2 separate regions of the Homo sapiens genome follow, and region 1 is linked to region 2. The links are contacts of gene promoters, found by promoter capture Hi-C in human tissues and cell types (Jung and others, 2019). All regions are on one chromosome and are shown on one strand. Each heading gives the region's core, a stretch centred on a gene start or on the middle of the fragment in contact. The rest is flanking DNA. Distances are from core to core; before and after follow the strand shown. Region 1 holds the start of LOC101927598 (a long non-coding RNA gene). Region 2 holds the start of TRIM9 (tripartite motif containing 9).

Region 1 (5,206 bases), core at 540-3,039, 670 kb before region 2:
AGGAGTTCGAGACCAGCCTGGCCAATATGGTGAAAGCTCGTCTCTATTAAAAATACAAAAATTAGCTGGGCGTGGTGGCGCATGCCTGTAATCCCAGCTACTCGGGAGACTGAGACACAAGAATCGCTTGAACCCACGATGTGGAGGTTGCAGTCAGCCGAGACCACACCACTGCACTCCAGCCTGGGTGACAGAGAAAGACTCTGTCTCCAAAACAAACAAACCAAAAAAATTAAACACGGTATGATTCCACTTATATCACGTGTCTAGAGTAGTTAAACTTATAGAGCTGCAAAATAGAATGGTGGCCCCCAGGGGTGGGTGAGAGGGAGAGGAATGGAGAGTTTGGTTAATGGGTGCAATTTCCATTTTCAAGGATAAAACTGTTCTGGAGATGATGGCGGTGATGGTTGCTAAACAATGTGAATGTACCTAATGTGATTAAACTCTAAACTGAAAAATAGTGGAAATTATAAATGTTCATACTGGCCATTCTATATGAAATAATCTATATTTATAATTTTTAGGATTTATACGTGGTATATTTTCCCATAATAAAAGATGAAAATTAAAGCACTTGGATCTTGTAAAAGAAAAAAGCAAATAATACACACAAGCTCTCTCCTGATTAGAGGAAGAGCCCCAAAGCTTCTATGGACACTTACTTTTCTATTCTTCTTCTTGCATGATGATGAGGAAATCCTTAGAGCATGGGGAACATGGGCGACTCTGGCTAATGAGGAGCTCTGTGCCTTGAGCCCCCCAGGCCATAGAATAGGAAATACTCAGTCTGTGCCTCCAGCCCTGCAGTGTGAGGTTGCAGTCCTGTGGGCTCCACACCCGTCACCTGTATCAGGAGGCTCATGTCTCACCCTGTCTTCTTACCAGCCTTGAGGACGGAGTCTGAGCCTCCCATGTGCACCACTCAGGGAGGACAGTGGACCTGTTCTCCGTGGTCATGGCCCAGCAGAGGGGAAGGGCCGTTCAGTGAGTGCTGAGGGACGGTCGGGAGCCTTGTTTGTTTCCTCATCTTCAGGACAAACGGGAGAGTGCCGTGGGCAGATGGGAGGAGACCAATGTGCAAACTGTCAGCTCAGCAGACTGTGGAGTTTCTGTTCTTGGTTGTGGTGGGGGATCTCTCTCAGGAATCTTCTTCAAAATTTTGCTTCCCTCCCCCACTGGTTGTCCTCTTCATAGACATCTCACCCATGAGAGCAGGGAATGAGTCCCTCTAAAGTATGCCCTCAGAACAACAAAAAGATGATGAAGGTGATGATGAGGATAAAGAGGATGATGACAGACACCATGGCATCATGAACCCTTACTGAGGGCTTCCTAAAGGCCAGGCTCTGAGCTCTGTGTTCTATGCAGCTTGTTTCATTTCATCTGCATAGTCTCCCAGTTATTAGTGCACATTTCCTTATGATTTTACAGACTAGAAAAGGAGCAACACATTTTCATATAACTTGTACCAGATCACGAAGTCAAAAATGGTGAAGCCCAATTTGAACAAGGTAGTCTAAGCCAGACACATGGCATTTGGCCAGTCCTCTCCCTGCATCCAACCTGCCCCCTCCAATCCTTGTCACTCAGGCCGATGCCCCTGCTCACTGTGCCCTTCCCTTTGGGGGTTCCTTGTAGACCACAGCTAGACCAGTGGGTGCCACAATCACTGTGTCAAGTATGGAAAGGGCAGCGGAGATCACATCAAAGATTCCAGAAAGAATTGGCACAGGATCATTCGGGATGCATCTCTCCCTTGCCCCTGTTCCTGGCTTTCCTTACAGCTCTCGACTTCCTCCAAGGAGCCATCAGTTCCGGGTTTGGCTTCCATTCCTATTGAGGAAGCTGGAAACCATTTCAAAAATGCTCCTCGGATGTGCCTGTGGTTAAGACCTCTGAGCTCTGTTGAAAACTTTTGAAGCTGGGCGTGGTGGCTCACGCCTGTTATCCCAGCACTTTGGGAGGCTGAGGCAGGCAAATCACAAGGTCAGGTGTTCGAGACCAGCCTAGCCAACACGGTGAAACCCCGTCTCTCCTAAAAAGAGAAAAAAATAAGCCAGGCGTAGTGGCGGGCGCCTGAAATCTCAGCTACTCGGCAGGCTGAGGCAAGAGAATAGCTTGAACCTGGGATGCGGAGGTTGCAGTGAGCCGAGATCGCTCCACTGCACTCCAGCCTGGGAAACAGAATGAGACTCCGTCTCAAAAACAAAAAAGAACCCACAACATTTTGAGGGTTGGGAGACCATCAAGTATAGTGCCCGGGACTTAGAGTCTGGCCATTAATTTCAATACCACCCTTTCTACTTATCTGTATGGCAAGGAGTGAGACGTCCATCCTCTGAGACTCAGCACTCTCATCTGAGTTGATTTCTAGTTGATCCAAGGGAAGTGAGCGATGATGAAACCCATAGTGGGTGCCCGCTGCGTGATCTCTATGTGATGGATGCATAAAGTCAAGGCAAAGTGAACTTTAGATACATTCGTTAATATTTTCAGCTTAAACTCCAAACGGTTCAACGGAAATATCCCCTGACCTGAAGTTCTTGTGTCCCTGCATTCCAGACAGGACATCTTATTTTGTCCTTGTCTCAGTAAGTACTGAGTATTGTGAGAGGAACAATTGAGTCTCTTTTGTTTCTGATTCCCCAGAGCCTATATCTTGCTTGGCACATAGGAGATAGCCAAAGTAAACATCTATGCTGATTATTGAATTGACACTTCCTTGGTTCACAAAAATTGGCTGTCATCAGTGTGACGTCAGTGTGACAGAGCGTGTGTTTTTGGTTTTTTGTTTTTTGAGATGGAGTTTTGCTCCTGTTGCCCAGGCTGGAGTGCAGTGGTGTGATCTCGGCTCACAGTAGCCTCTGCCTCCCAGTTTCAAGCCATTCTCCTGCCTCAGCCTCCCGAGTAGCTGGGACTACAGGCACACGCCGCCATACCGGGCGAAGTTTTCGTATTTTTAGTAGAGGCGGGGTTTCACCATGTTGGCCAGGGTGGTCTTGATCTCCTGACCTCGTGATCCGCCCTCCTCGGCCTCCCATAGTGCTGGTATCACAGGCGTGAGCCACCGCGTCCGGCCAAACGTTCTGATGAAAACTCTAAGTCCACCTAAGCTAAGGATAGGAGTTATAGCTTCCATGAATTTTAAAACAAGACCCACTGATTTGAGGAAGCAATTACTCTCTTGAAGGAGAAAAGTCAGAAAACGTAATGATGAAATCACTGGGACCCACCTGGCCTGTGGAACTATTTTCTGCTTATGAACCATCAACTTTAATTTCATTTCCAGATGGCATGGTCTCAGCAGTTATACAGTGTTTACAGATGTTCTAAATCAAGGGAATTTGTATCAATCTATTCGAATAAAATAAAATATTTGAGTTCTTAATTTCCTTTCATTAGGATAACCTTTTTCTTAAAGTGAAGAGAATGGTTTCATTACATCGTTTTCTTCGGAAAAGATAGGCTGTATTTTCTAGCAATGACGAACTTCTTATATAGGATGATTTGGTTCTTGGAAGATTCTTGAATCTAGTGTCTCTAAGGCAGGTGTGTAGAGCAAGAAGTGAAGAACACAGAAATCAATGATGAAAGCATTAGAAGACAACTGAGTTTGTCAGCACTGCAAACTATTGCTGAGTGTGGATTGCTCTGAAATCTGAAAACATGACTTGTGAATTGCTTCTATGCAAAATGCAGACATGATGCTGGGTGTTGCTTTACTTGTTTCCAATTTCTCAACCCTCTTTTCTAGGCAAAAGGTGTCCAATCTCTAGAGACCCACAGAATCTAACAGATGTCTCTATATTCCTCCTCCTAGAAGCTCAGAGGATCCAGAACGGCAGCCGGTCCTCACTGGGCTGTTCCTGTCCACGTGCCTGGTCATGGCGCTGGGGAACCTGCTCATCATCCTGGCCATCAGCCCTGACTCCCACCTCCACACCCCCATGTACTTCTTCCTCTCCAACCTGTCCTTGCCTGACATCAGTTTCACCTCCACCACAGTCCCCAAGATGACTGTGGACATCCAATCTCACAGCAGAGTCATCTCCTATGCAGGCTGCCTGACTCAGATGTCTCTCTTTGCCATTTTTGGAGGCATGGAAGACAGACATACTCCTGAGTGTGATGGCCTATGACCAGTTTGTAGCCAAATGTCACCCTCTATATCATTCAGCCATCATGAACCCGTGTTTCTGTGGCTTTCTACTTTTGTTGTCTTTTTTTTTTCCCTCAGTCTTTTAGATGCCCAGCTGTACAATTTGATTGCCTTACAAATGACCTGCTTCAAGGATGTGGAAATTCCTAATTTCTTCTGTGACCCTTCTCAACTCCCCCATCTTGCATGTTGTGACACCTTCAACAATAACATAATCCTGTATTTCCCTGATGCCATATTTGGTTTTCTTCCCATCTCGGGGACACTTTTCTCTTACGATAAAATTGTTTCCTCCATTCTGAGGGTTTCATCATCAGGTGGGAAGTATAAAGCCTTCTCCACCTATGGGTCTCACCTGTCAGATGTTTCCTGATTTTATGGAACAGGCGTTGGAGGGTACCTCAGTTCAGATGTGTCATCTTCCCCGAGAAAGACTGCAGTGGCCTCAGTGATGTACGCAGTGGTCACCCCCATGATGAACCCCTTCATCTACAGTCCGAGAAACAGGGATATGAAAAGTGTCCTGCGGCGGCCGCACGGCAGCACGTTCTAATCTCAATACCTTCTTATCTGTTCCATTCCTTTTGCAGTGTGGGTCGAAAAAGGCTGCATGATGAAATAAGAATGATATCACAGGGTGAACACCCACTGTGATACTAGGAGTAATACCTCCCTAGGATATAAAATATACTGTCACAGAGTATACACACATGGGGTACACCCACTGTGATATTAGAAGCAATATCTCCCTAAAGTAGGATGAAAAATATCACAGGGTGTGCACACTGTGTGATATGAGGAGTAATATTTACCCTGGATAGTACGACTAATATCAAGGGTGTACACACACGGGGTACACGCACTGTGATATCAGGGGTTGTATCTCCCTAGGATATTATGAATACCATCACAGGGTATACACTATGTGTGTACATCCACTGTGATATTTGAAGTAATATCTCTCTAGGAGATTATAAATAACATCAAAGCGTGTACACCCCTGTGACATATTAGGAGTAACATCCTTCTAGGGTATTACAGATA
Region 2 (4,915 bases), core at 1,823-4,322:
CTGATCACCAGCTGGAAGACAGAAGATATCCCCTCAATAGTATAATATTTCTATAATATTACCAATTACATTTCAATTTTTATTCCCTTTTAAACATAAGTCATTGGGGGGCTATAAAGCACATTATGGCCAAACAGTGCAACATGAGGGGAAAATCTTCAAAGGCCTTCAAGAATATTTTAAAGAAATGGATTCAAAGAAAAATAGTAAACTTTTGGCTGGGAGCGCTGGCTCATGCGTGTAATCCCAGCACTTCGGGAGGCTGAGGCAGGTGGATCACTTGAGGTCAGGAGTTTGAGACCAGTCTGGCCAACATAGTGAAACCCTGTCTCTACTAAAAAAAAAAAATGTAAAAATTAGCCAGGCATGGTGGTGCACACCTGTAGTCCCAACTACTCAGGAGGCTGAGGCACGAGAAACACTTAAACCTGGGAGGTGGAGGTTGCAGTGGGCCAAGATTGTGCCACTGCACTCCAGCCTGGGGAACACAGCAAGACTCCAGTCTCAAAAAAAAAAAAGGAAAAAAAAAGTAAACTTTCAGAGAAGGTGAGCAGAATATCATAGAAGTTAACAAAGAACATTTTGGGTACTTATCACATTCAGAGCTTGAAGAGAGTAGAACTCAGCACTTGTTGAATGAATGAATGAATGAATGAATGAACAAAGGAACAAACTTATATGTGTCCGGGTTCCAATCCCAGCCTCACCATATTTGACCTTGAGTACTTAAGTGTCTTTGCTTATCTTCAGTTTATTTATCTGTAAAATGGGAATAATTGTGCCTACCTCTTCTTGTAATTACAGGGATTTAACCAAGTAATGTATACAAATAAATAAATCCCCTGTTTGGAACAGGGTGAACTCTCAACAAATGAGTCATTTTAAGAGCTCTCCTAGGATTGACTGATTTAGCTAATTCCTAAACAAACAGATCTAACAATGAAATCATCTCAAGCGACTTCATAATAGACCAAATCTTTCTATATTGACTATATTATAAACCTGTGTTGTTCTTTTTGCGAACCCAACACTGCATTACACCATGAGACATCCTCTAAAATTCTTCTTTACTTTGAACTAAGCATAAACTTTCTGCTAATAAGATCTCTTAGATGATATACTATTATAAGCAGAGTTCAAACTCATACAAAGTGTAACAGCTGCTCACCTTGCTGGTCCAAGATATTGTGACTTGTGGTCAAATGCATACAAAAGCCATAAAAGGACACTCCTTTCTAATATTTTCTCAATAATTAACTTTCATTACAATTCAATTAATACTATATTGAATATAATTATTAGTAATTTCTCTTGGGACCTATAAATTAAGTGTATCCTGCAAGTGCAGCTAATGTCCCAACCATACCTGAAGAAATTTTATCTATGTCTGTAAACAGAGTGCATATACCTTTGGATGCTCTGGTCTCAACTAGTTGAAAGCCAGCTTAAAAATAAATCACGTCACATTTATGATTAACATGGCTTTAAATAACAATGGGGACTTTATTCCCCCACACAATGATCAACTACTGTTCTCACTGCAACTAAAGATGTTGAAAAGATAACCTAGTTTATTGGACAATTTCTACAAGGGCAGTGTAATAAAATGTCCATTTTTTTTCTGGACAATAAAGTACTTTTAAATTATCAACATAGCTGCATATAATCAAGTTATCTCCTGTCTGGAAGGTGGAAAATTGGAATATTTCTAGAACTTGCAAAGAGTTTTTGTCCTTTACTTCATGAATCATTCAGCAAAAGCCGGCTATGTACTATTTCAAATGTTACTACCTCAGAATGTCACTTGACTCAAAGATTTTCCTTTCCTTTTCTTCTTCCTCCCTCCCTTTCTTCCCTTCCTTCCGCCTTTCCTTTCCCCCCCCCTTCCTTCCTCCCTCTCTCCCTCTTTCCCTTCTTCCCTCCCTCCCTCCCTCCTTGTACAGGGACTAACACTAGAATCACCGCCTCACCATGCCCCTCGTTGGAAGAAACAGAAAGGCACACGATGCTGTAAGCTATGGCAGATGCCCAGGGCACGTGGGGTTGAATAATGCTGTTTGGAGTGAAACACTGAGACTCCGCAGTCACACAGTGATTCATTTACAGAGCTTTACTAAACTACGGGCACTCAGAAATAGACAAACTGTTCTTGCCTCAACCGAACCAAAGGCCCAGCGGGCCTCGAAAAAGCTCAGCCAGGTGCTTTGGGAGGCCGCGAGGAGGAAGAAGGATCCGTGGAAGGAAGCACGTTCACACCACGGCACTGAGGCCTCTGGGCCGAGCTATAATTTAAAGCATGAAACGAAGGGGTCATAGATTCTGACTAATGCTGACCATTTCCATCGGTTACCCAGTTGAATCTCATGTCGACACTAGGAAATCGACTTTATACATGCTCTTTAGGAAACGAGGGACGCAGGATGAAAGAAGCCAAGAGTGTCGCCAGGGCTTGCGCCAGCGCCGTCAGACTCCCGGGATGGGGGAGCTCCAGGGCACGGCGTCAGCGGATTCACGGAGAAGGAGAAAAGCCCCACTGCCGTGCAGAAGCCTAGGCCCGGGTGAGACGCCTGCGAAGGCTGCCAGCAGCGGAAGAGAAGGGGCGTCCTCCGTGCTGCGCAGCACTCGCCCGCGGTAGGTGGGCGCGGAGCTCAGAGCTGGGAGCCAAACGCAAACGCTGGCGAGAAGCCCCAGCCCCCTCCGGCAGCCCACTCGCTGCGGGGAGGGGTTTCTCACGCCCCCAGCTCCTGGGAGACTGCACCGGAGGTCGGAAGTAAGCCGGGCGAGGATGAATCATCCCGCCTAACTCCTCCTTCCCGGTCCCCTAGCCTCCGCACGCCGGCCCCCTTCAGAGATCTTGCAGCCGCGAGCGAAGACTGCCCTATCCTCAGACTCTACCGAACCCCCTGTGGCCTGCGGAGACGAGGAGACGGACGGGTCTGGTGGCCAATGAGAGCTTCGATCTCTTGCCCCCCGCCCAATGGGCCGCTGCTCATGGGCCGGGGCGGGACTAGGAGGGCAGGTAGGGGCGGTCCGGGCTGGCGCGCGGCGCGGCGGCTACGCGGCTGCGGCTCACAGAGCTAGCGCCTCTCTGGGTGTCCGTGCCAGTGCTGCGCGGGAAGGCACCACCACCACAGCCGCCGCCGCTGGCCAGGGTGCTGGACAAGACGGGCCCGTCGGCCACCTCGCCAGCTCAGGCACCCGCTGCAGCCGTCGCTGTCTCCTCCCAGACCGGTCCCCATGGAGGAGATGGAAGAGGAGTTGAAATGCCCCGTGTGCGGCTCCTTCTATCGGGAGCCCATCATCCTGCCCTGCTCTCACAATTTGTGTCAGGCGTGCGCCCGCAACATCCTGGTGCAGACCCCAGAGTCTGAATCCCCCCAGAGCCATCGGGCCGCGGGCTCCGGGGTCTCCGACTATGACTATCTGGACCTGGACAAGATGAGCCTATACAGCGAGGCGGACAGCGGCTATGGCTCCTACGGGGGGTTCGCCAGCGCCCCCACTACCCCGTGCCAGAAGTCCCCCAACGGCGTCCGCGTGTTTCCCCCGGCTATGCCGCCACCGGCCACCCACTTGTCACCGGCCCTGGCCCCGGTGCCCCGCAACTCCTGTATCACCTGCCCCCAGTGTCACCGCAGCCTCATCCTGGATGACCGGGGGCTCCGCGGCTTCCCCAAGAATCGCGTACTGGAAGGGGTAATTGACCGCTACCAGCAGAGCAAAGCCGCGGCCCTCAAGTGCCAGCTCTGCGAGAAGGCGCCCAAGGAAGCCACCGTCATGTGCGAACAGTGCGATGTCTTCTACTGCGATCCGTGCCGCCTGCGCTGCCACCCGCCCCGGGGGCCCCTAGCCAAGCACCGCCTGGTGCCCCCGGCCCAGGGTCGTGTGAGCCGGAGGCTGAGCCCACGCAAGGTCTCCACCTGCACAGACCACGAGCTGGAGAACCACAGCATGTACTGCGTGCAATGCAAGATGCCCGTGTGCTACCAGTGCTTGGAGGAGGGCAAACACTCCAGCCACGAAGTCAAGGCTCTGGGGGCCATGTGGAAACTACATAAGGTGAGTCCTAAGAAAACCCACTCCTAACTCCCTGCGTCTCCGATCATCCGGTTTTGCAGCAGACGGTCCCCGTCTCTTGCGCACAGCGCATCCCAGTGGGGGCGCAATGCAGGTGCCTTCGATGTTTACCTCCCTGGTCTGGTGCATTGCAGGAGGCATGGGGGAATCTTAACCGGCGCACGGGGGAGTTGAATGCCCCCACAGAGTTGTTGCGGGGATGCCTTAGAGCGGGTCTCTCGGGGCGCGCTGCCTGCGAGCGGGACTCAGGGCGCCCCCTTTCCGCGGCGGGTCTGCAGCCAGTGGCCGCGGCCAGTGTGTGGGAAAGCACTGCATAGCTGGGTAGAGCCGCGCCAGTGCCCAGGGCCGCTAGGCACGCTCGAGGGCAGGGCGGGCTGCGAACCCTCGGGGAGGGACTGGGATGGGGGCGGTGGGGTCGCGCGGACGGCGGGAGTCTGTCGCTGCTGGATAGGCGGACCTGGTGAGGCACGGCGGAGGGTCGGGGAGACGCCGCAGGCGGAATACTGATGAGCCCGGCTCTGGGCCAGACCTGGCTCTCGAGCTGGAGAGAACGCGGGGTCCTGGTGCCACGTGCTCAAAAGACAGAGCGGAGAGGGCAGCCAGCGGTCGCCATGGCAACGCGACGTGCAGGCTTGGGCCTGAACCCTTCCGGAGTTGGGACCTGAGACTAGAGTGTCAGGACCGGAGTTTGCGCAGTCGCGGCCTGGAAGCCAGACAGGTGCATCTCCTAGGGAAACCTTCTCCTCCCAACTATACACACACCCACTTCTCCGGAATTCAAGCCCTTTCCTCTTTCAGTAGTTATATGTGCAAACTTTGGGACACCTGTTACCAGATT

The links. The method cuts DNA at HindIII sites, captures the fragments that hold promoters and counts their contacts. A contact is called where the count stands out against the background at its distance.
Region 1: a contact is called between a fragment that was not itself captured here and the fragment with the promoter of TRIM9 in region 2, in 1 of the 25 tissues and cell types used here (mesendoderm cells).

The regions. Positions count from the first base shown.
Region 1 is chr14:51,762,600-51,767,805 of GRCh38, reverse strand. It overlaps LOC101927598 (a long non-coding RNA gene), which reads right to left and starts at 1,990. Exons shown (of 8, transcript XR_002957605.2): 1 at 666-1,990. It also overlaps the pseudogene OR7E106P. The HindIII fragment of the contact is 4,822 bases long and covers 1-4,200 here.
Region 2 is chr14:51,093,262-51,098,176 of GRCh38, reverse strand. TRIM9 (tripartite motif containing 9) reads left to right here and starts at 3,072. Exons shown (of 13, transcript NM_001387360.1): 1 at 3,072-4,059. The coding sequence starts at 3,238. RefSeq lists a silencer at 3,011-3,080. The HindIII fragment of the contact is 24,626 bases long and covers 1-4,915 here.